7 separate regions of the Homo sapiens genome follow, and all the other regions are linked to region 1. The links are contacts of gene promoters, found by promoter capture Hi-C in blood cells and fetal thymus (Javierre and others, 2016). All regions are on one chromosome and are shown on one strand. Each heading gives the region's core, a stretch centred on a gene start or on the middle of the fragment in contact. The rest is flanking DNA. Distances are from core to core; before and after follow the strand shown.

The links. The method cuts DNA at HindIII sites, captures the fragments that hold promoters and counts their contacts. A CHiCAGO score of 5 or more calls a contact.
Region 2: a contact is called between a fragment that was not itself captured here and the fragment with the promoter of SNHG8 in region 1, in 1 of 17 cell types (neutrophils). The highest score is 6.1, in neutrophils.
Region 3: a contact is called between a fragment that was not itself captured here and the fragment with the promoter of SNHG8 in region 1, in 1 of 17 cell types (non-activated CD4 T cells). The highest score is 6.8, in non-activated CD4 T cells.
Region 4: a fragment that was not itself captured here is called in contact with the fragment with the promoter of SNHG8 in region 1 in 1 of 17 cell types (naive CD8 T cells); the score reaches 6.4 in naive CD8 T cells.
Region 5: a contact is called between a fragment that was not itself captured here and the fragment with the promoter of SNHG8 in region 1, in 1 of 17 cell types (naive B cells). The highest score is 6.5, in naive B cells.
Region 6: a contact is called between a fragment that was not itself captured here and the fragment with the promoter of SNHG8 in region 1, in 1 of 17 cell types (endothelial precursors). The highest score is 9.0, in endothelial precursors.
Region 7: a fragment that was not itself captured here is called in contact with the fragment with the promoter of SNHG8 in region 1 in 1 of 17 cell types (naive CD8 T cells); the score reaches 5.9 in naive CD8 T cells.

The regions. Positions count from the first base shown.
Region 1 is chr4:118,277,362-118,280,224 of GRCh38, forward strand. It overlaps SNHG8 (small nucleolar RNA host gene 8), which reads left to right and starts at 1,401. Exons shown (of 3, transcript NR_034011.1): 1 at 1,401-1,431; 2 at 2,028-2,070; 3 at 2,263-2,462. It overlaps SNORA24 (small nucleolar RNA, H/ACA box 24), which reads left to right and starts at 1,829; the gene lies at 1,829-1,959. It overlaps PRSS12 (serine protease 12), which reads right to left. Exons shown (of 13, transcript NM_003619.4): 13 at 2,677-2,863. RefSeq lists an enhancer at 929-1,108 and a silencer at 1,179-1,228. The HindIII fragment of the contact is 13,799 bases long and covers 1-2,863 here.
Region 2 is chr4:113,387,588-113,390,450 of GRCh38, forward strand. It overlaps LOC105377374 (a long non-coding RNA gene), which reads right to left. Exons shown (of 5, transcript NR_199847.1): 5 at 1-863. Among named protein-coding and RNA genes, the nearest start is that of MIR8082, 240 kb to the left of the region's middle. The HindIII fragment of the contact is 2,369 bases long and covers 274-2,642 here.
Region 3 is chr4:113,532,098-113,534,960 of GRCh38, forward strand. The region is part of intron 7 of CAMK2D (calcium/calmodulin dependent protein kinase II delta); the gene reads right to left. Among named protein-coding and RNA genes, the nearest start is that of CAMK2D, 230 kb to the right of the region's middle. The HindIII fragment of the contact is 1,003 bases long and covers 997-1,999 here.
Region 4 is chr4:114,377,257-114,380,119 of GRCh38, forward strand. No RefSeq gene overlaps it. Among named protein-coding and RNA genes, the nearest start is that of UGT8, 220 kb to the right of the region's middle. The HindIII fragment of the contact is 427 bases long and covers 1,268-1,694 here.
Region 5 is chr4:114,693,506-114,696,368 of GRCh38, forward strand. No RefSeq gene overlaps it. Among named protein-coding and RNA genes, the nearest start is that of MIR577, 38 kb to the left of the region's middle. The HindIII fragment of the contact is 4,720 bases long and covers 1-2,863 here.
Region 6 is chr4:114,781,307-114,784,169 of GRCh38, forward strand. No RefSeq gene overlaps it. Among named protein-coding and RNA genes, the nearest start is that of MIR577, 130 kb to the left of the region's middle. The HindIII fragment of the contact is 1,770 bases long and covers 555-2,324 here.
Region 7 is chr4:115,076,426-115,079,288 of GRCh38, forward strand. NDST4 (N-deacetylase and N-sulfotransferase 4) reads right to left here. Exons shown (of 14, transcript NM_022569.3): 2 at 1-857. The coding sequence starts at 611. Among named protein-coding and RNA genes, the nearest start is that of NDST4, 36 kb to the right of the region's middle. The HindIII fragment of the contact is 649 bases long and covers 1,163-1,811 here.

The DNA.
Region 1 (2,863 bases), core at 151-2,650:
GCCCAGGAGCACAGGAGATCAGCCTGAGGGCAATATAGTGAGGGCTTGTCTTTCAAAAAAAAAAAACCTTAAAAAAAAAGTAGCCAAGTGGTGGCACACGCCTAGCAGGAGGCTCGCTTGAGCCTAGGAGGTGGAGGTTGCACTGAGCCAAGATCATGCCACTGCACTCCAGGCTAGGCAACAGAGCAAGAATGTTTCTAAATAAATAAATACATAAAATAAAATCCTTAAGCCAATCTTCATTTACCAACCAATTTTTAATTCTTTTATTTGTTACCACATTGTCTCTCCTGAATATCCAAAGGCTCAAAGCCTTGGTTTGAATGCAGCTAAATTCATTGGGTTTGATCTCAAGTCAAACTTAGAAATACTGTCATCTCAGCCACAAATTTCACACTAAAGTAGATAGAAACCACTACTAAATCACTACTTTGTCTTAAAATGAAAGTATAATAGACTGTAAGGTTATAATTGCTTTTTTAAGTTAAACTTTGTTTTACATTTACAGAAAATTTGCAAAAATGGAGTCCCCACACCCCCTTCATCCAATTTCCCCTACCATTAATATCTTACAATACCATGGTATATCTGTCACAATAAAGAAATCGGTATTGGCACTATTACCTAAATTCCACACTTTGTTCAGATTCGCTAGTTTTCCATTAATGTCCTTTTTCTGCTGGAGATCCCAGCCAGGATACCACATTACATTTAATCATTATGCATCATTTTCTCTGGCATAATAGTTTCTCAGACTTTTCTTGTTTTTGAGTAGTGATTAGGTAATTTGTAAAATGCTAACCAGCGATCTCAGCTCACCATAACTTCCGCCTCTCGGGCTCAAGAGATTCTCCCACCTCAACCTCCCGAGTAGCCGGGACTACAGGCGTTCACCACCACACCAGGCTAATTTTTGTATTTTTAGTAGAAACGGGGTTTCGCCATGTTAGCCAGGCTGGTCTCCAACTCCTAACCTCAAGTGATCCGCCCGCCTCGGCCTCCCAAAGTGCTGGGATCACAGACGTGAGCCACCGCGTTCGGCCCCTTTTTCTAATATTGTCTAAAATAAGTATCCTAAACAGGAAATACCAAAAAAATCCCCCTCGCTTTCGTGACCTACACCGGTAAGCGTCAGGATCTTTCGCTATGCGAGAACCTTTTGGCTCTCGTATGTGCGCATGCGTCTGGATCCGGAGCCAGGTGACCCGCTCAGACGTGGACCATGTGCGGGGGAGGGGGGAAAGGAGCCGCGAAGGGGGTGGTAGACGGAACAGGTGGAGCCGCGGCGGGGCTAGGCGGGGCGGGGAGTGAAACAGCATAGGCTCCGCCCCTCGCGGCGCTTCCCCCGGAATAGCGTCATCAGTTCTATAAGAGAGCGTGTGCCGAAGGCCTCGGCCTTTCACATTCGGGAAGCGTCGGGATTAGGTGAAAGTACGTAGTTGTCTTTCGTAAGTTAAAATGATAATTGGGCCGAAACTTACTGCCTTACCTAAAAGGCAGCGCAGTCAGGATATTGGTAGGTCGGGGGCGGCTTTGGAAACCCTTAAGTTTACAAGCATGCGCGGACTTGAGTGCTCATTAGGTCGCCGGGCGTCCACGTGCAGCCCTGGACCCTGAACCCCGGCGTGCGTGGGCCGTGGGCCCTCGGGGAAAGGTTCCGTGCACTCGGGGACTCCGGTGAAGCCTGTTCAGCCGTCTGTGTCATGTGGCCATCTTGAGTCTACTCTGTCGCTCTTGTGCCCTAGCACCCCGAGAACCGTCAGTTTGAGCCAGATGGTGAGTAATAACCTGTAGCAGTTTGGTTGCTGGTTAATTCTGGATTGTGAATCTCCATGTATCTTTGGGACCTGTCAGCCGTGGCAGTCTCCCTTCCTAGCCATGGAAGAGCATATCCTTGTTTATTGGCAAAGCTGTCACCATTTAATTGGTATCAGATTCTGACTTGCACAAGTAACATTCACTGTTAAAAACCTAGAGGGTGCCGGGTTATTGGGCAAAATTTCTAAACCGTTGTTCAATGTTTCTAGGAAGCTGAGCTGAACACATTACGATGGATGATGGAAACATAAGGTACATTTCTTTTTTGATATTTCTGAGTTAATCTGAAACGCCTTAGCGGCAGGACGTTGGAAAGCTAAAGTTGGCCCGTTTTGCTGGCTTTTGTAGTTTGAGTTAACAACCAACTGAATTAGCTGATAAGATCTCAAAACAGTGAGGTAAGTACACAGCTCGGAGTTTTATAATGCTTTTTTTCTCTTGCAGACTATCAAGAAATCCAAGTGGTAATGGGCGAAGTTTATTCAGCATCCGGCAATGGACTTATCGTAGTTGGGGAAACGGGTGTTCCGAATAATATCCTGGAAGTTATCAGGACACCTATTTTAAATATAGGCCTGAATTTTGTAAAGTAATATTTAAGGTGGTCCGTGATAATTAAATAAAATGCTTAATTCATGTGGCTACTCATTGTTCCTTGACTGAGTGATTAATAGACGGAAAGGTAGTTAATAGCATAATACCTCCTATTTAGTGTTACACGCTCATGTGGAAGTAGTGTGAGTACAGTTCTAAGGTAATTGCAGCCTTTGTGAAAAATGTAAAATATAAAAATTACCAGGCTACCCCCAAGGGAGACAGCAGACTCTTTTTAAACCATACAAAAATTTAAGGCAGTTATACAAGGTGGAAAATTATGTATTTATTTACACAAATATGCACAGAACACTTGTATCTTTCAAAAGTCACACTTAAGACATAGTAAAAGCATGTTGTATGAACCATGTATTCTTAAGGATTGAGCAAACTGCAGGCTGCTTGCTGCCTTTTAGGTTTGCTAGTCCCTGATCTACTTGAAACAGATGTT
Region 2 (2,863 bases), core at 208-2,707, 4.9 Mb before region 1:
ACGGGGAAAAGCAGGCTGGAGGAGGAAAAGGAAGGGTATGATCACACTACTAAATTCACATGCTGCAAGGGAAAAGGAGCAGGTAGGGGAATACTCAATTATGTATTCGTTTGGCACTCAGTAAATTGGCGCTTTACATAGAGTAGCTACCCGTGGGGATTTTTAACCTTTTATTGTAGCTATCTGCTTAGAAACAAAAGGAAAGTCAGTGTCTTGCTTGACTCAGCTTTCAGCTTAATTTTTTCCTTGTGGCATAGTGCATTGGGGGTCCCAAGCTTTTATTTTCCTTTCACACTGAGGAGCTACTACTGCTACGAAGAAATCCACCAGTGCAGAAATCAGAAATCCAAGCTGCCACTGAAGGGCTCAGATTCATGTAGCAGCAAAGTATATGTTTCTTAGGAGATAGCCCATATATGGCTGCAAAAACACTCCATGTGTCTTCTGCCAGAGTCCATGCACCTCTCCCCAGCTGCTCCCAAAGGTATAATCATTTTTCTTCTCTTTCCTTTTCAAATCTTGGGCAAACAACTTTCATCGGCAAAATCAAATACATAACCCCACTGGAAAGGGATTCCAAAAAATGTATACCTGAGGCTCTTCCCCCAACATGCAGGGAAGAATGTAGAATAGGTCCAAAATAATGCTCAGCTGCTAACAATCAATCACAGTGGCTAAGCCAGAGAATAACAGTCTTCATCCATCCACAAATGCATGCAATTCAAGACCTACTATATTTTAAACATTGTGCTATAGTGCTCAGGGTAGACTGGGCCAAGATCATGGCCCAATGGGTCACTTTTGCTGAGTTTTCACTATTGCCAGTTACTATTCAATGCTCTTCTTTCATCTCCATCACAATCCTAGGAAACAGATCCAGGTGAGGAAACTGAGGGGAAAAGAAATTGAATAACATGCCCCAAATCATGCAGAGAGAAAACGACAAAGCTGGGATAAGAACTCAAGCAAATGGCACCAACAATAAACAACACTCCATCTTTGAAAAACACAGACCCTTCCCTTTGGATTTATAATCTTGCAGCAGAGACATATTGAACTGATCATTTAACAATTAATTAAAAATTACTTTTCTTCCGGAAAAAATTCTTCTTCTTCTGGAAAAATATATTTATAAAGGGAAACAGACCTTATTCAGTAACTTTGTCATTACTATTCTGAAAAATCTCTTTCTTGCTTCTCAAGCCCATTTTCTCTTCCTTATCTGCTTCACATTTGGCAGATGAACTTGACGCTGTTTTATAAGAAAGTAGATGTCAATGGGCATGAATTACTACAATGCTATATTAGGGTTCTCTGGAAAAACAGAACCAATAGTGTGTATGTGCCTGTGTGCATGCATGCCTGTGTGTGTGTGTGTGTGTGTGTGTGCACACATATATAAAGAGATTTATTGTAAGGAATTGTTCCACATGATGATGGAGGTTGAGAAGTCGCAAGATCTGCACTCAGCAGAGTGAGCAGAGCTGATATAGATTCAGTCTGAAGGCAGGCTTGAGATCCAAGAAGAGCCAGTGTTTCCGTTTGAGTCTGAAGGCAAGAAAACTAATAGCTGAAGGGCAGTCAAGCAGAAGTTTTGTCTTAGTTTCTTTTATTTTCTTTTTGTTGTTGTTCTATGTAGGTCTTTGATTGATTGGGTGAGGCCCACCTGTATTAGGGAGGGCAGTCTGCTTTACTCAGTTCACCCATTCAAATGTTAATCTCATTCTACAAACACACTCACAGACATACCCAGAATAGGGTTTAACCAAATATCTGGGCACCCCATGACCCAGTCAAGTTAACACGTAAATTAGCCATCACAAATGCCTTTTCTATTACTACCTCCAAAATTGTCTGTATTTACGTGAACCCTACTACTCATTGTTCTCACAAAGAATGCTCTCTTGTCTCCTGGATTTATGGCCTGTGTCCTTGCTATGGTCTAAATATTATGTTCAAAATTCGTATGTTAAAATCACCCTTGCAATGTGATGGTATTAGGAAGTGAGGCCTTTGGGAGGTGATTCATATGTTGAAATCCTCCACCCTCAACATGATAGTATTAAGAGGTGGGGCCTTTGGCAGGGCTTCACCTTCATGATTCGGATTAGCATCCTTATAAGAGAGACCCCAGAGAGCTAGCTAGTTACTTCTGCCATGCGAGGACACAGTGAAGGTGCCATCCATGAACTGGAAAATGGGCCCTCACCAGACACCAAATCTGCTGGCATCTTGACCTTGGATTTCACAGTCTCCATAACTGTGAGAAATAAATGTCTATGTTTACAAGCTGTCCAGTTTATGGTATTTTGTTACAGCATCCCAAACGGACAAAGACATTCTTGCTGTCCCCTCCCCATCTCCTGCGGCCTTGCTCTGTCATGGTGTGCTCACTGATGATGGCTTTCTCTCCCAGCCTGTGAGCACAGCTTATGAGAAAAATAGATTTATCCCTGAATCCTGTCTTTACACCTAACTAATGCTCTCTTTCTCTCTCTCTTTTCCTTTGCCTTTTTTTCTACATATGCTTTCCTAGTTTTTCATTACTCAATCTTCCTGCAGTGTGGCTTCAAAAAATGCTGAACAGTAAACATATTAGAAACTATGAGATATGGCTAAACAGAGGTCAGAAGAAAACTAAAAGCTTCAAACTAGGGTTCTAATTCCTGTGCTGAGAGTAGCCAGACAGGAAAATAATATGTGAATTGTCTGAACATAGAAAATCAGGAGAGGGGCTGGCCTATGGCAAACTTAAGAGAACATGCCACATATTATATATATTGAGATAAATAGAAACCTTCAATTTATGAAGGTTTTAATGTAGGAAATAAAAATGTGAAAATGCAAAATATATCTAAGAGTT
Region 3 (2,863 bases), core at 248-2,747, 4.7 Mb before region 1:
CACTGTATACTTATTGAAATGCAAAGTGTCCAAGAAAGAAACTTTTTCCCCATTTCTGTGACAAATTTATACTTATTAAGTACAAACAACATGCAAAGAGGTATTAAAAGACAATATATACAACACAGTTACTTCTCTGAACAAAAAAGAAAATGAGGAAAAAAACTTTGCACTTAATCTTTTTTCTTTTCTATTACCATTCTTCTTTTTCTGTTTGTTTTGGGGGAAGATTGGATAGACAATGAGAAGGGATTCCAAGAAAAGACCTGTATGTTGCAATTTAAGCTTCAAATGGACCCTGGGTAATCCATCTGTACCTCAAACTCGACTTGAAATAAATATTTGGTTGGTAGTTGTGAGGTACAGAGAATTACTGAGCAATAATGGTGGTTCCACTGCCTAAAGCTTGAAGATTTCCTCAAGGAGTGATATGCACTCTGTGAATTCCAAGGTAGAGATGGACACAATTGTTTTAAAGAGTTTGCCAGCACTTCTGTCCCCTCCACTCTCACCATCCTTCTCCAACTTCTCTAGAGTTGACAGGCAATGAGACTCCAGTGAGAAATCGATGCTAATGTCCAGATTACATCCAATGTTCTTAGTGTGCACTTTCAGATCCTTTATCATCCGGCTACACTTCATTCATTCAACATGATTTCATTCTCCTTCTGAGCCCTTGACCTGACTAATCTCTTTAAGGTCTTTTAAAAATGGCCTTCTCAGTGTCACCCTTGATACTACTTTTTCTGTTCCTTGAATCCTCAATATTTTTTCTCTACCTCTTTTCTAACAGAGAGTGGCTCTAAGTTATTTCCATCTTAGAGCTCTCCTTAGTTACCTACAGTTCTCGGTGGTCCCTTCTCACCCTGAATTTCAATGACTCTTTTATATACAATCTGTACTCTTCTGTCTAAATCAGTAAACTTTAATAATGTATGATTTCAATAACTTAGAATACATGGCCAGAAGTACGAAATGTTAACAATACCTCTCCTAAGCTTCCCTAAGATAGGGAAGTAAGTTACTATGTGAGGAAGAAATGAAAAGATCATTTAAAATATAAATTATTACAAACCTCTTCTGGAGACTAAAATTCTAAGAGAATACCAGCATGCTCATTCTTATTTAGTTACAACCATCATTTGAGCAGTCAATGGGGTCCTTACCCCAAGAATATTGAAGCATATATCTAAATGCATGGACGTTAGGAAAGAATGTACGGTACAATGTGACCTCATAAATACAGACATATGGGGGGTAAAATAGAGAAGACCTTCTCTGTGGGAAATTAAACTTGCAAGAATCTAGGATTATCATACTACATGCCATCAATAGAAAAAGTAATGAGAGCTTGCCTTTTTTAGGGATAGCATATGTTTCTTACTTTGAAAAACCAATAAGAAAATCAAAATAGATAACACAAAGAGAAAAGAGAATTACTGACTGTTGGAAATGTATCCATTGTAACACATTGGCATAAAAAGAACCTTAATATCATAAAAAAGAGACATAACAGCAACAAAGCAAAATAATTCTTCCATGAACCAAGATCTTGGTAGTTATCTTTTTTTTTTCTAGCAGCAACAAAATGCTAGAAATGTATTGCAAATAACATGTCCAGTTCCATAAGAGAAACAGAATATATTTGAATATTTCTTTTTGGTAAATTTTCTAGCCATCTTATCAAGTATAGTGACAGGGTGTTTACTTCTACCAGTTTTGGCTAGTATTCCAACAGACCAGACTAGAAAATGAAAAGTAAATATGGGAAAAAACAAACAAGTTGGGACTTGAAAAATGATAATTAAAAAAAAAACAATAAACAGCTTCCATAATGCTTTGTATTATCTATTATGTTGTTTCGTATACATACTATGTTTTTTCTTATTTGTAATGGACCTCGTATATTTATTAAAATAAAATTATGTAAAAGCCTGAAGCTCTGGTATTCCACATAATGAAGAAAGAGTCCTGCTCTTTATCAAAATTAAAATAACAAAGCTTTTCCTCCATAAACACTGATATTACATTTTGAAAGATAAAATTAATCAGTAAAAATATATGGGACTATAATGGCAGATCATAATGAATAAACATCAAAACAGGTCATTCATTATTAAAACATGCCTTTACTCCTAATACTTAAAATATATCTGGCAGCTCATCTGAAAGAAACGTAGAACACCACATCTCCTTTTTTCTCAGATTACCATGAAGATTCGCTTGAACTTGAGAAAAGAAAAAGAAAGAGAAAAAAGAAGTATATTCTCCCAAGTTTAGACACTCTGTTTTTCTGTACTTCTGAAATACTGAATTGCCTTAGAACTTAAGATGTTGCTTCTTTTAAAAGTTATTACTCTAACAGGTACCTTAACAATAACTTAATTGCTGATAGCACCATGCTGATGAAGTGGAAATTTTATTGCTGAGCTGTCACTGCTTCTTTGGGACCAGCTTGTTTTTAGAAATCAGTAACAATTTGAAAATCTATGTACTTTTATTTGGATGCTATTGCTTTTACTGACCTGATATTCAGTCCTCTACTCACTGATTCACTAAACAACTCTCACTGAATATGCAAAGAATTATGTCATTGTTTCACACCAAGACAATTTTGAAAACTTATTGAACATCCTTTATAGCTCAATCAAGTTTCTATGGACTATTTCACTCAATCTTATAACAGTCCTGTGAAGAAGTGTTTATTATCCCATTTACAAAGAGGATAGTGACCTCACAGATTTAAAGTGACTTGCTCAATATCATACAGCTGTTAAGAATCAGAGCCAAGATATAAATTCATATATTCTGATTCATAAAGTAAAATTTTTTCCACTACACATAGCCCTGCTCTCAAACTATA
Region 4 (2,863 bases), core at 231-2,730, 3.9 Mb before region 1:
GAGATGGAGTCTCGCTCTGTCGCCCAGGCTGGAGTGCAGTGGCGCAATCTCGGCTCACTGCAACTTCCGCCTCCTGAGTTCAGGCAATTATCTGCCTCAGCCTCCCGAGTAGCTGGGATTACAGGCATCCAACACCATGTCCGGCTAATTTTTTGTATTTTTAGTAAAGACAAGGTTTCACCATCTCAGCCAGGCTGGTCTTGAACTCCTGACCTCGTGATCCACCCGCCTCGGCCTCCCAAAGTGCTGGGATTACTGGCGTGAGCCACCACACATGGCCTCTATTCTTTATAAATTACCCAGCTTCAAGTGTTCTGTTATATAGCAACATAAAATGGATTAAGACACCAGTGTAACTTTGACAGCCTTATTAGGCATTATTCCAGAAGAAATAACCCACATGGGTTCTTATTAATCTACTCATTGGTCAATGGGAAAGTATTTTCTATTTGTATGTCTTCACTTATTAGTGAAAGGCAACCTACACATTCAGAACTTTAACACTTTTTTGGGAGAAAGTATCCCCTAAAGAGATTATCTAGTTTTTTAAATCCTTTTTTTAAAATCATTTTCAAAGAAATGTCTCTTTGTGGTTTTAATGGAGGTTCAGTTTAAAATGTGGTAGTCAAAAGAAACCAATTTAGCTGCTTTCTTTGACCAGTGACAACAGTCTAATCATCGCTTGCTTAATTGGCTCTGCAATTTCCTAATTAGCATAGGATTGGCCAGAGCCTGATGTGATAGCTTACCCTTTGGCTCTTAAATTCTAGCTTTTTCTTTATTAATCAAAAGGAAAATCATCATGCATGTTAAAATCATTAAAGAAGAACTCCTTTTATCAAACCTTTAGGCTTCTGAAGTTAGGAGACATCTCTTCTTGTAAATTACGTTCTAGACTTGTTAATTTTTAAGTGAGTGAACTAATCTTTGGTGGAAAATAGGTGAGGGATTAATTAATAGAAGGTGGTAAATGTTAAAGGAATATGGTTCAGAATGAAGTTAGGTACCATGCATTCCTGCTGAGTTAACCTAAAACATAAAGTCATCTTTTATTTTCCCAAGGAAAAGATCCAGAAAGAAGTTTTTTTCACTAACTTTACCATATTAACATCTAATTTTGTATATATAATTGTAAATACTATTTAAAAGGTAAACTGAAACACAATACTATTTTAAAAAATTTATTGCAGCTAACAATGATTCATTAACCGGGCGGCTCCAAACCAGAAGTGATCTGAGAGCTCCACCAAGTGAAATGCAACAGGGAAGCTTTTACAATCCTATCATTGAGGTAAAAGAAAATAAGACATTTGACTGATTACAGTTGTACAGTTGCTTTATTTGGTTTCTTTTCTTAGAAAGTTGCTAATTATAATATGTTAATTGGCTGCTTCTGATTGATTGAGATTGAGTTCTGTTTTTCGTTAATACAGGCATTTACAAGAAACACCTCAGGTTGTTTCACTTATGTTTGCAAATCGAGCAAGGTTGAGGTAACTTATGAGCTCTAATTGGGTTTGTCAGCTCAGGGATTTTTTTCAGGCATGGTCTCCATCTTAATTAACTTCAACAATATCAACTTTTAATATTTACTTCATCAAATAAATTAACATATTTATAATCACAAATTATTATGTAATTACTTTACTACTATAAAAATATACTTTTTCACATTCCTTGAACTATTTTATTTAAGCTTTTGATATGTATTTCCTAAAGTAGTCTTCATCATTAACAGAGCTGCCTGTTGAATCTAATGGCTTTGTCCAGAGCACATTATTTTCTTACTGGTCCACACTTTTTTGAGATAAAGCACTTTCTGGGTCTGTATACAATGTTTTCACTGGAAAATTTATCCTGAGTGTATACATTCACAAAACATTAGCCCATTTGTTTTTATATTTTCCTATGAATATACATCCACTATCTCCTCAACACGACCATTTGCTGCATTGCTTTTTAAATAAATTTTAAACTTGTTTATAACCCAGCACTTGCAATTGTGAAGTCATGTTCATGATAGGAATAAATAAATCTGTATTATAGTTTTAGGGTTTTTTTTCTTTCTCATCAATTCAGTCGATCTCAGTCAATCACTCACTTGATACTAGTATTGACAGATTTTTAGGCTAATGTGTCTTCACTGAACAACAACAATTTGGTTTGGTTAGTCAAAATTAAATAAACTGAGAGAGGATCAGCAATAAGTAAGATTTTGTAAGGATTTGGATATAAAGTAACTATCCCCCTCTTATCTGAGAACAACAACAAACAAATAAACAAAAAACAACTTTGCCTTATTCAAACATGCCGAGCAATCTTAGACTTCAGTTCACAGAAATTTTAGCATTGTTTTGAAGTAGTTTGTACTAATTTTAATCACTTCTGAATTCTATATTCAATTTTTCTTATATCAAAAACTGATTATGATTAACAAGAACTATTATAACATGGAACCCAGGAAATTATCTGAAGATGTTCATATATTATATAAAAAGTGATATATAGATATAGATTTATCTATCTCTCTAGAAAGATAGATGGATAGATAGATAGATAGATAGATAGATAGATAGATAGATAGATCGATAGATAGATAGATACATGGATACCTGGAGATATATATATATACCCACACACACACTCTGTTTTACTACAACAAGGTCCCTGTACAATAGACCCCTCTTCTTTTGCAATAAGGTATTTTTTGGTCAGGAGAAATAAATTTACAGTTATGGTATCTGAAAGCAAAATTAATTCAAAAAGGAGCATTTAATCTTAGGAATTTTCCATTGCCACTGATTCCTAATCCAGAAACTTCTAAATTTGACCATACTTTAAACTATTGTGTTTCCCTGTATAT
Region 5 (2,863 bases), core at 245-2,744, 3.6 Mb before region 1:
CTCTGCTTACCTGCAAGTATAAGCTGCAAAAATAAGATATGTCTCTACGTTAAAATTTGCCAATATATTACTATCATTAATATTACAAGTGGCATAGGTATTACTTGCAGAATTAGAGATTAGTACAGAAAAAGCCAAAGTCTCTCTTCTCATGATTACTGCCATGTGTTATTCATGCATTTATTCATTTCTTCAACAGATACATACAGAATATCTAATGTGTGCCAGGAAATATACCTGAAGATATGCAGTGAACTAAATATATACCATGCTCACTCTTTTCTGAATATCATACTAAAGTAAATTATTAGTATGATCGACCTATCAGAAATATCATAATTTTGAGTCGGCATTATATATGACAGCCTTGGAATATATGATTTCTTTTCTTTTTCTTGGAAGGATTGAGTTGGTGATTTAGTATATGAATTTAAATTTTCCATCCTGGTCATAGTCAATGTATTCTCCAAAACATAGAGATTATCTTTAAGTTGGGAAATTTGCAATAAAAACATTATTCAGGTCCTAGAAAACAAAGTATAATTAATGAGTGTTCAAAAAAAGAATAAAAATGCTTAATCAAAATGGTTCCAATTATATTACATTTTATCTTGAAAAAAAAGATACTACAAAGCACATTCAGGGAAAATATTTAATACCCAAAGTGATATTTGATAGCACATTATGAAGAAAAAGTCTACATTGAAGAGAATGTATTCATTATTTATTTTATTATGAATGTTTCCTTCCTGCTCTCTTTCAGTTTGGAAGTATGCCAATTCAGATGAACATCAACTTACTCTAAGCAATAAAAGTAGATTATTAGATTGGGTTTTTCAGATAAAATTATACATGTTGCATGAAAGTTTGCTTTTTAAAGGAATTCTACCATAAAACTATATGAAGCAAATTATTTCATTATTATTTCTTGTGGGAATAAATACAATGAATGAAAAGTATATATTAAAATTATTTAAGCTAATTAAACATGTAAACTCAATTATCAGATTCTCCATCTTGGGGCTGATAATAATAGTTACAAATGATATGAACAGTTTCAACTGCTAATGGTGTTATAATCCTCCCAACTGGTGAGTTATCTTAGAGTGAAAGAGGACAACTTGTACTTATTTTCCAATAAAAATGGCAGAGAAATTACATGCATGTATATTTCTGATAAATATATATATAAATTATAAAATTACTCTCACACTGGCAATGCCTATTAATTAGATCTATTGGGAGTTTTGAAATGATAAAGTAACTTCTCTATTAATATACATTTGGGTTATTTTTATGTATTTTTAAGATATTGCTGCATATGGAAACTCATTATTTAAACATTGAGGAATTAGATAGACTATTTTACTAAAATTATCGTTTCCTGATTATGCTGAGAAATACAATAATTTTTCTGGCAGAGGTCAAATGGCCAAAAGCTGGATGGCTGATGTTCTGATGAACAGATCTTTGATGACATCTAGTGGTGAAATGTAGATTTATTTATTCACTGTTCTCAAAGTTTTAAGATGTCAATGTTGTATATATCTTGAGAGACATTGAGATAAGTTGGAGATTGAATAAAATGGAGAAATTTGGTAATTTTTGTCTTCAGCAAAGATACCTTAAAATGGTTAAGAACAAAGGGGTAGGCAGAAAAGAGATAAACAACCTTTAGTAAACATTTTTACATTTTAATTCTGAGAAATTTGTGTAGAGAATAAAATTTAAAACTGTAGCTTATAATATAAATATATTTCTTCGTGCAATTATGTTTAGCTGATGTGAATATGCTCCATTTATGTGTATAAGCACCACACTTGTTCTGATTAGGTGAATTTCAGTAATATATGGACTTTTAAGAAAATTTAAAAGAAAGCCAAAAGACAACCTGTGTATATATTTTCCATTTATGATAATCTATCATTATTTATATTTTTAAATGACTGAATAGACATGTCCTTATACTTAGTAGCAGCAAATTTTGTTGACCTAGGCTTATTTTATATGTGTTTTAAGCAAAATAACATCACAAGCAATGAATTCTAATTTTTGCTAGGTTTTCAGGAGCAAAATTATTTATACTTTTAACAAATCAACTCAGACCTTTAATCAGCATGTTTCAGCAGCACAAACATGCTGGAGACTGTCAAATTTTGTCTTCAGACATATATATACTAGCAGAAATTGGGGCAAATTATTTGATATCATTAAGCCTGAAACTTATTTTCAGAATGAATATATTGGATTAAACCCCAGTCTCTCTTTGAATCCAAACATTCTTTGATTTTTATATGATCATCTATATGCTTTATTTACTCTTTGGAACAAAGTTCTACCAAGGAGTAGGGGGAAAGTGTCACAATTATATTTCTAAGACTCTGTTTACAAATTACAAGTGAAATTGGAATTTTGTTAATTATCCAGTTAATTTAATTAGTGTTTAAATTCAGACTCAATTTGTCATAGCCTAATTTACCTACATTATTGTGTCTATATTGACTAAATTAAATGTTTAGCCTGCACTTTGCTATGTTGACTTAGCCTGTAAACTGACAGAGAAATAAGAGAGTACATAACAATGTAAACTAGTATAGTTTCTCAGGGGAAATATGTTTTCTTTACACTAGATAAGCTCCGTTGTGTTAATCACACTGCAAATGAGCAATAAAATATTTGACATACATGATCAAAATGTTATAGTCAGTTATTTTTATTAATTCAAAAAATATTTACTGAGTACCGATTATGTGCTCAGCAAAAAATTTTATATTGATAAAATTTGTTTTGTGGTATCTTTTCCCTAGCAGTCTCCAGCACGTTTGTGCCACTGAAACATGCTGACTAAAGATCTGAGTTGATT
Region 6 (2,863 bases), core at 190-2,689, 3.5 Mb before region 1:
TTCATCATTATCCTCCTTATGCTTTAGACTTCTTTGCTCATCACACACTTCACCTTAGACTATTTCATATATGTTCTCACCACTTTACACAAGATAGGACACTGAAGCCGATGACTGGTTCTATCTGCCTTTGACTCCGAATTCGTGTCTCTCCAATCCATCCTGTTTATTCAGTAAAACTCATTGTCCTTAACAGACACGTTCACACTGTTACTGCTCTGTGAAGCCCATAAAGTTATCAGATCCCTGCCTCAGAAGTCAGACCACCTCAACAAGACGTGGATGTCACTTACTAGTCTTTTACTTGTAATGAGGCTATTTCCTCATCTGTTAAACAAGAATGATGACAATGTTTTGTCTGCCCTTTGCAAATAAATGATGTGGGAATACTTGAAAGAAATGTCAAGAGCCACATTTATAAATTATTATTACCATACTGTCTTTTGGTAGCACAACATTAAGTTTACACTCTTCTTGCTTTTACTCTATATGTTTTTTCTGTGTTTCCTAGTCAACATTTCTTCACTACTTCTGATAAGGAACCTTTTAGGAGAAGCTTCTCACTGACTCAAAACTTATAATAAAGGTCATCTCACTCTTTCATTTTTATTGGTTTTTCCCTTTGTCTGAGTTATTATTCTCTTTTATATACACCTGCCAAGATATATTGTTATGTTCAGTTCAACCTTTATTTCCTACATGGACATTTTCCTATAGCATTACTCTAATACATTTCTTCCTTTTTAAAACTATTATTGCTAGTCTGTTGCAATACTTACTATAACAGGTAATTACTCTTTTGTTGTTATTATTATTATTCCAGTTTTCACTTTAGCAACTACCACACTTTGGCGAGTATGGTAGGTGCTTAATAGTAGTTTTGATTGACTGATATAAGTAGCAAGTATTATATAATATAGAAAATATAAATCCCTCTTTCACATATTTTATACCTAATTTTTTTGTTTGAGAGATGATGCAAAAATTGCATTACATTAACAAAACAAAAATTATTACATTATGAGTCTGAAATTGCTAGATATAGACATACCAATCTTTGTATTCAAGTGAATCACAAGGACATATCAGCCTAAATAATAAATTAGAAGTCTGCAATGTGCTTGTGCCACTTGACAATGAGTCCCATCGACATAAACTGATACCATGGACAGATTTCTTATTAATCATGCTTCACCGGGTCATTGGGTTAAACATTTAAATAATAGGCTAATAGGAGTCTTGCTGGCAATTTAATTCCTGCTTTCTAGGCTCTGTAAGACAGAGTCACTCCTCTCTTTCCCTGGAGGAGGGGAAGTCCATCAAAATGTCATTATTCTACATGTGTAACAGAGTAATTTCTCTTGGTTTCTATATAGGTAAATTTGCAGTTGGCAATTGGCGATGAAGTGTCACTGATTGATCCTCACAGACTCATTCCTTTCCCCTCCTTACAACAAAGATCCTGTTTTTAATCACCTTACTGTGTACTTCCTTTGCCTTATCCATTATGCAAGGAGGTCAGCTAGTAACACTCAATATGACTAATTAAAGAAAGAACTCCAAGGTAAAGTGCACAGAGGCACTTTGGTAATTGCTGTGATATCCATAAATAATAATGACAACTAATGAGACCCATAATAGCTTTGTAAACAGTAATTTGCCCACTCACAGGAAGTGAATAACAATTTACACTGAGTGAGGAGAGTCAACTCTCATGGGTCATTTGAGCATTTCTTTTTCTGCTCTCTGTAGCCAACTGTTTTTGGCATTTCAGGAATTTCTGGAGGGGGTCGACTTATAACCTCGCTCTAAATGATAGCACAGTGTTTCAATGCATGGAATGAATAGCATGTTCTTTGCGTGGGCTACTTTATTTTTAAAATATTTAGTTAGGCTAATTTGAAATATCTCTGGAGATGGTAAGAAGAGTGGCCATATTCAAATACAAAAGAAATTCAGAAAGTTGTTAGAGGTTACCTAATAAGAAAACTGAGGCCAAGTAAGGTGAAGAAATTTGTGCAAGAACTTAAAACTTCTTTGTGCCAGAGTAGGGACAAGAAGATAGAATCTCTGGACCTGCGCCAGTTATCTTCACAGAGCCGATCTCTGAGGGCTTTGAAAATCATGAGCAGGGGTGTGGCTTGAATTGTATTGTGAAGCCCCCTTGGTGATGTCATGCTACTGTCTAGTAGCTAAACTGACTACAAATAGCACACTGCTAAAGTAGAAACATAAAATCATACAGGTGAAACAAATAGCCAGAAGTACATCAAAGCAGGTAGCATAACGAAAGACCTGAGGATCACTTTCCAAATTCAGGTGGAAGCTTCTCACTCTGACTTAATAGCGAGGAAACAGACAAATACACTTAGGTTCTGGGTAGTACTTTGTTGCCTGGAAAATTGCTTTTCCGTCGGGACAGTTATATCTCTTGAATATCATTCTCCTTTTTAAGGATAAAAACACAATTCCTGAATGTGGCCTTATCTTTTCCTATATGCTCAGAGTAGCCATCTTCCTCCTATTCAGGAATTTGTATCTGCTTAGCTTTTTGGTTTTTTTTTTTTTGGTCTGGGAAAGTTGATCTCATTCTTCTTTTGCTAGTTAATACCTGTTAATCATTCAAATCTTAGATCAAGTGGCATTTCCTAGGGAATATCTTCCGTGATTTTGACAGGTAAAATCCATCCCTTTATTATAGACTCTGACAACATCGGGAATTTTTGCAGCAGCTGTCACAGTTGTAGTTGAGTACTTGTTGTCCAGTTTATTTGATAAATATGGATCTCCATCATTAGGCGTATTAGTCCATTTTCATGCTGCTGGTAAAGACATAACCGAGACTGGGAAGAAAAATAAGTTT
Region 7 (2,863 bases), core at 237-2,736, 3.2 Mb before region 1:
ATATGCAGCAAAGGAGATTGAGGGTTAACAAAACAGTCCTTTAGAGCTAGATTATTGAAAAGGTTTAACGGAAAGCCTTTTAATTGTGTACTTGGTAAGCTGTTCTCATTGGCTTTATGAAAACCGATTATACTAACACTGTATTCCACACAGTATTTTTCTAAAAGCTCTCGATTCCATGAGTCCATGCTGACATACTTCAGAATATTTTCATAAATAACTAAAGTATATTTCCCTTTGCCATTATCTGTAAGAGGAGGTATATCTCCCTTTCCAGGGGCAATAACCATGTGGTACTGAAATCGGCTGGACTCCAAAATAGCTATGATATCTTGACCGAGTTGAGAGTATTGGCTCTCCACGAAGAGAAGGACAGTAGGGTCCGTTTTGGATGTGTCAATAGGTTTAACTGTTTTCAGCTCCATTGACCTATATGGTAGAATTTTGATGTCAGTGCATTCTGCTTCTGCAGTGGTTTCAATAAGTGTCATTTCCTGTTTGTAGCCAGAGTAGAGAAAATAGGCAGAAATGACAATGCTCACCAAGCAAAAGGTAGCTAAGAGAACAATCAATGTTCGAAAACTTCTCCGAAGTTTCACAATAAGATTCATTTTTTAGAATAATGTTTTGGAAGCTTTTTCCCAATTTCGTTTCCTAAAGTGCCATAGTGAATAAAGTATGAGATGTTGCAAATATCACTTCCCCAGAGTTCATGTAACCATCGCAAATCATGTAAAATGTTTGAAGGGAGCACAACTGAGTTAAAGCTGGAAGGCAATAGATGGGAAGGATATACGTTGAGGAGATTTTGAATATGTCCAATACTGAGAATTGCTGCAGAATCCTCTAAGCATAATCTGAAAGAGAGGAGAGATGTAATAACTAAGATAAAAATAGAAATATAAATATTTATTTCTATATAAATGCTGATGCTCAAGAAACATATATAGCAATGATAATTTTAGTGTTAATATGCTAAAATATTAACAACCTGATGTTTACAGTCTAGACTTAACTACCTAGAGTATAGTAGATTTTTTGATAACCTCCAGAACACAGAACCCAATTTTATTTTGGCCTAAACATCCATATGTATATAGAAACATGTATTGAGATCATTTTCTAACTAATCCCACCAAAAAAGAAAAGAAGTAAGAAAGTAAGCTTTAACAAAGTATGTCAGTTACCATAAAACTATTCTACAGAACTGATAACCATTATATACATATAAAATTAGGAAATCAGGAATCAGGGGCTTAGAGCAATTAAACATGCTCTTAGGTATCTGCCTGAGTCTCTGGAATTCCCAGCTGACTAAATAAATCTGTCTTAAGTTTAGAGTAGTTACAAGTTTTTCTCTTGAATAATATATCCTTTATCTGGACTCACAGGGAGCCACTTGGCCCTCTTCAGCATTACAGCCCAGATACATAGGACTGCTCCTTCTTCTTGCAGGAACAGGCATTCTCAGATCTCGCTAATGAAACAGAGGACAGAACGCTTAGGTGAAAAGAACAATGACATGTTAGTCTCAAAGCATATTTCCTAATTTTGCCTACTCTTGTAATAAGAATTAAAACTCTTACTCATTGTCAATTTTTATCCAAGAATCAGATGTTCTATTTCTCTATCACTTCCTTTAGTTCAAAAAAAATGAATGTAGAATGCATTTGTATTATTTTGTTCTTGTATTGCTCTAAAAAAACACCTGAGACTGGAAAATTTATAAAGAAAAAAAGGATTAATTGGCTCACGGTTCTGCAGGCTGTACAGGAAGCATAGCAGCTTCTGCTTCTGGGGAGATATAAGGAAGCTTCCAATCATGGTAGAAGGCAAGGGGGTGCCAGGTATCTCACATGGTGGAAGCAGGAGCAAAAGAGAGAGTGTGTGTTTAGAAGACAGGAAGATGAGGATATGTTTGGAACTTCCTAGAGACTGGTTTTAAATGGTAGTGACCAAAATGCTGATAGTGATATGGACAGTGAAATACAAGCTAAGGAGGTCTCAGATGGAAATGAGGAACTTATTGGGGACTGGAGAAAAGGTCATTTTTTGTTATGCCTTAGCGAACAACTATGCTACATTGTGCCCCTGCCCTGTGGATCTGTGGAACTTGAACTTAAATGTGATGATTTAGGGTATCTGGTGGAAGAAATTTCTAAGCAGCAAAGCATTCAAGAAGTGGTGGGTGGATCACGAGGTCAGGAGTTCAAGATCAGCCTGGTAGGGATAGTGAAACCCTGTCTCTACTAAAAATACAAAAAAAATTAGCAGGCATGGTGGTGGGTGCCTGTAATCCCAACTACTCAGGAGGCTGAGACAGAGAATTGCTTGAACCCGGGAGGCGGAAGATGCAGTGAGCTGAGATTGTGCCACTGCACTCCAGCCTGGGCAATAGAGCAAAACTCTCTTCCGCCCCCACCAACCCCCGCCCAAAAAAAGTGACCTGGATGCTTCTAACAACCTATACTGGGATACATAAGCAAAGAAATGACCTAAAGTCAGAACTGATATTTAAAGGAGAAGCAGAACTGTGAGGCAATTAAAGCTCTTCTTCATAAATTACCCAGTTGCAGCTATATAGTCATTTGAGAATGAACTAACACAGCATTAAAAAAAAAATTTCCCATTATACACTACATTACTACAGGCACGGTGGCTCAGGCCTGTAATCCCAGCACTTTGGGAGGACAAGGTGGGCAGATCACAAGGTCATGAGATCGATACCATCCTGGCCAACATGGTGAAACCCCGTCTCTACTAAAAAAGTACAAAAATTAGCTGGGTGTGGTGGTGCATGCCTGTAGTCCCAGCTACTCAAGAGGCTGAGGCAGGATAAATGCTTGAACCTGGGAGGCAGAGG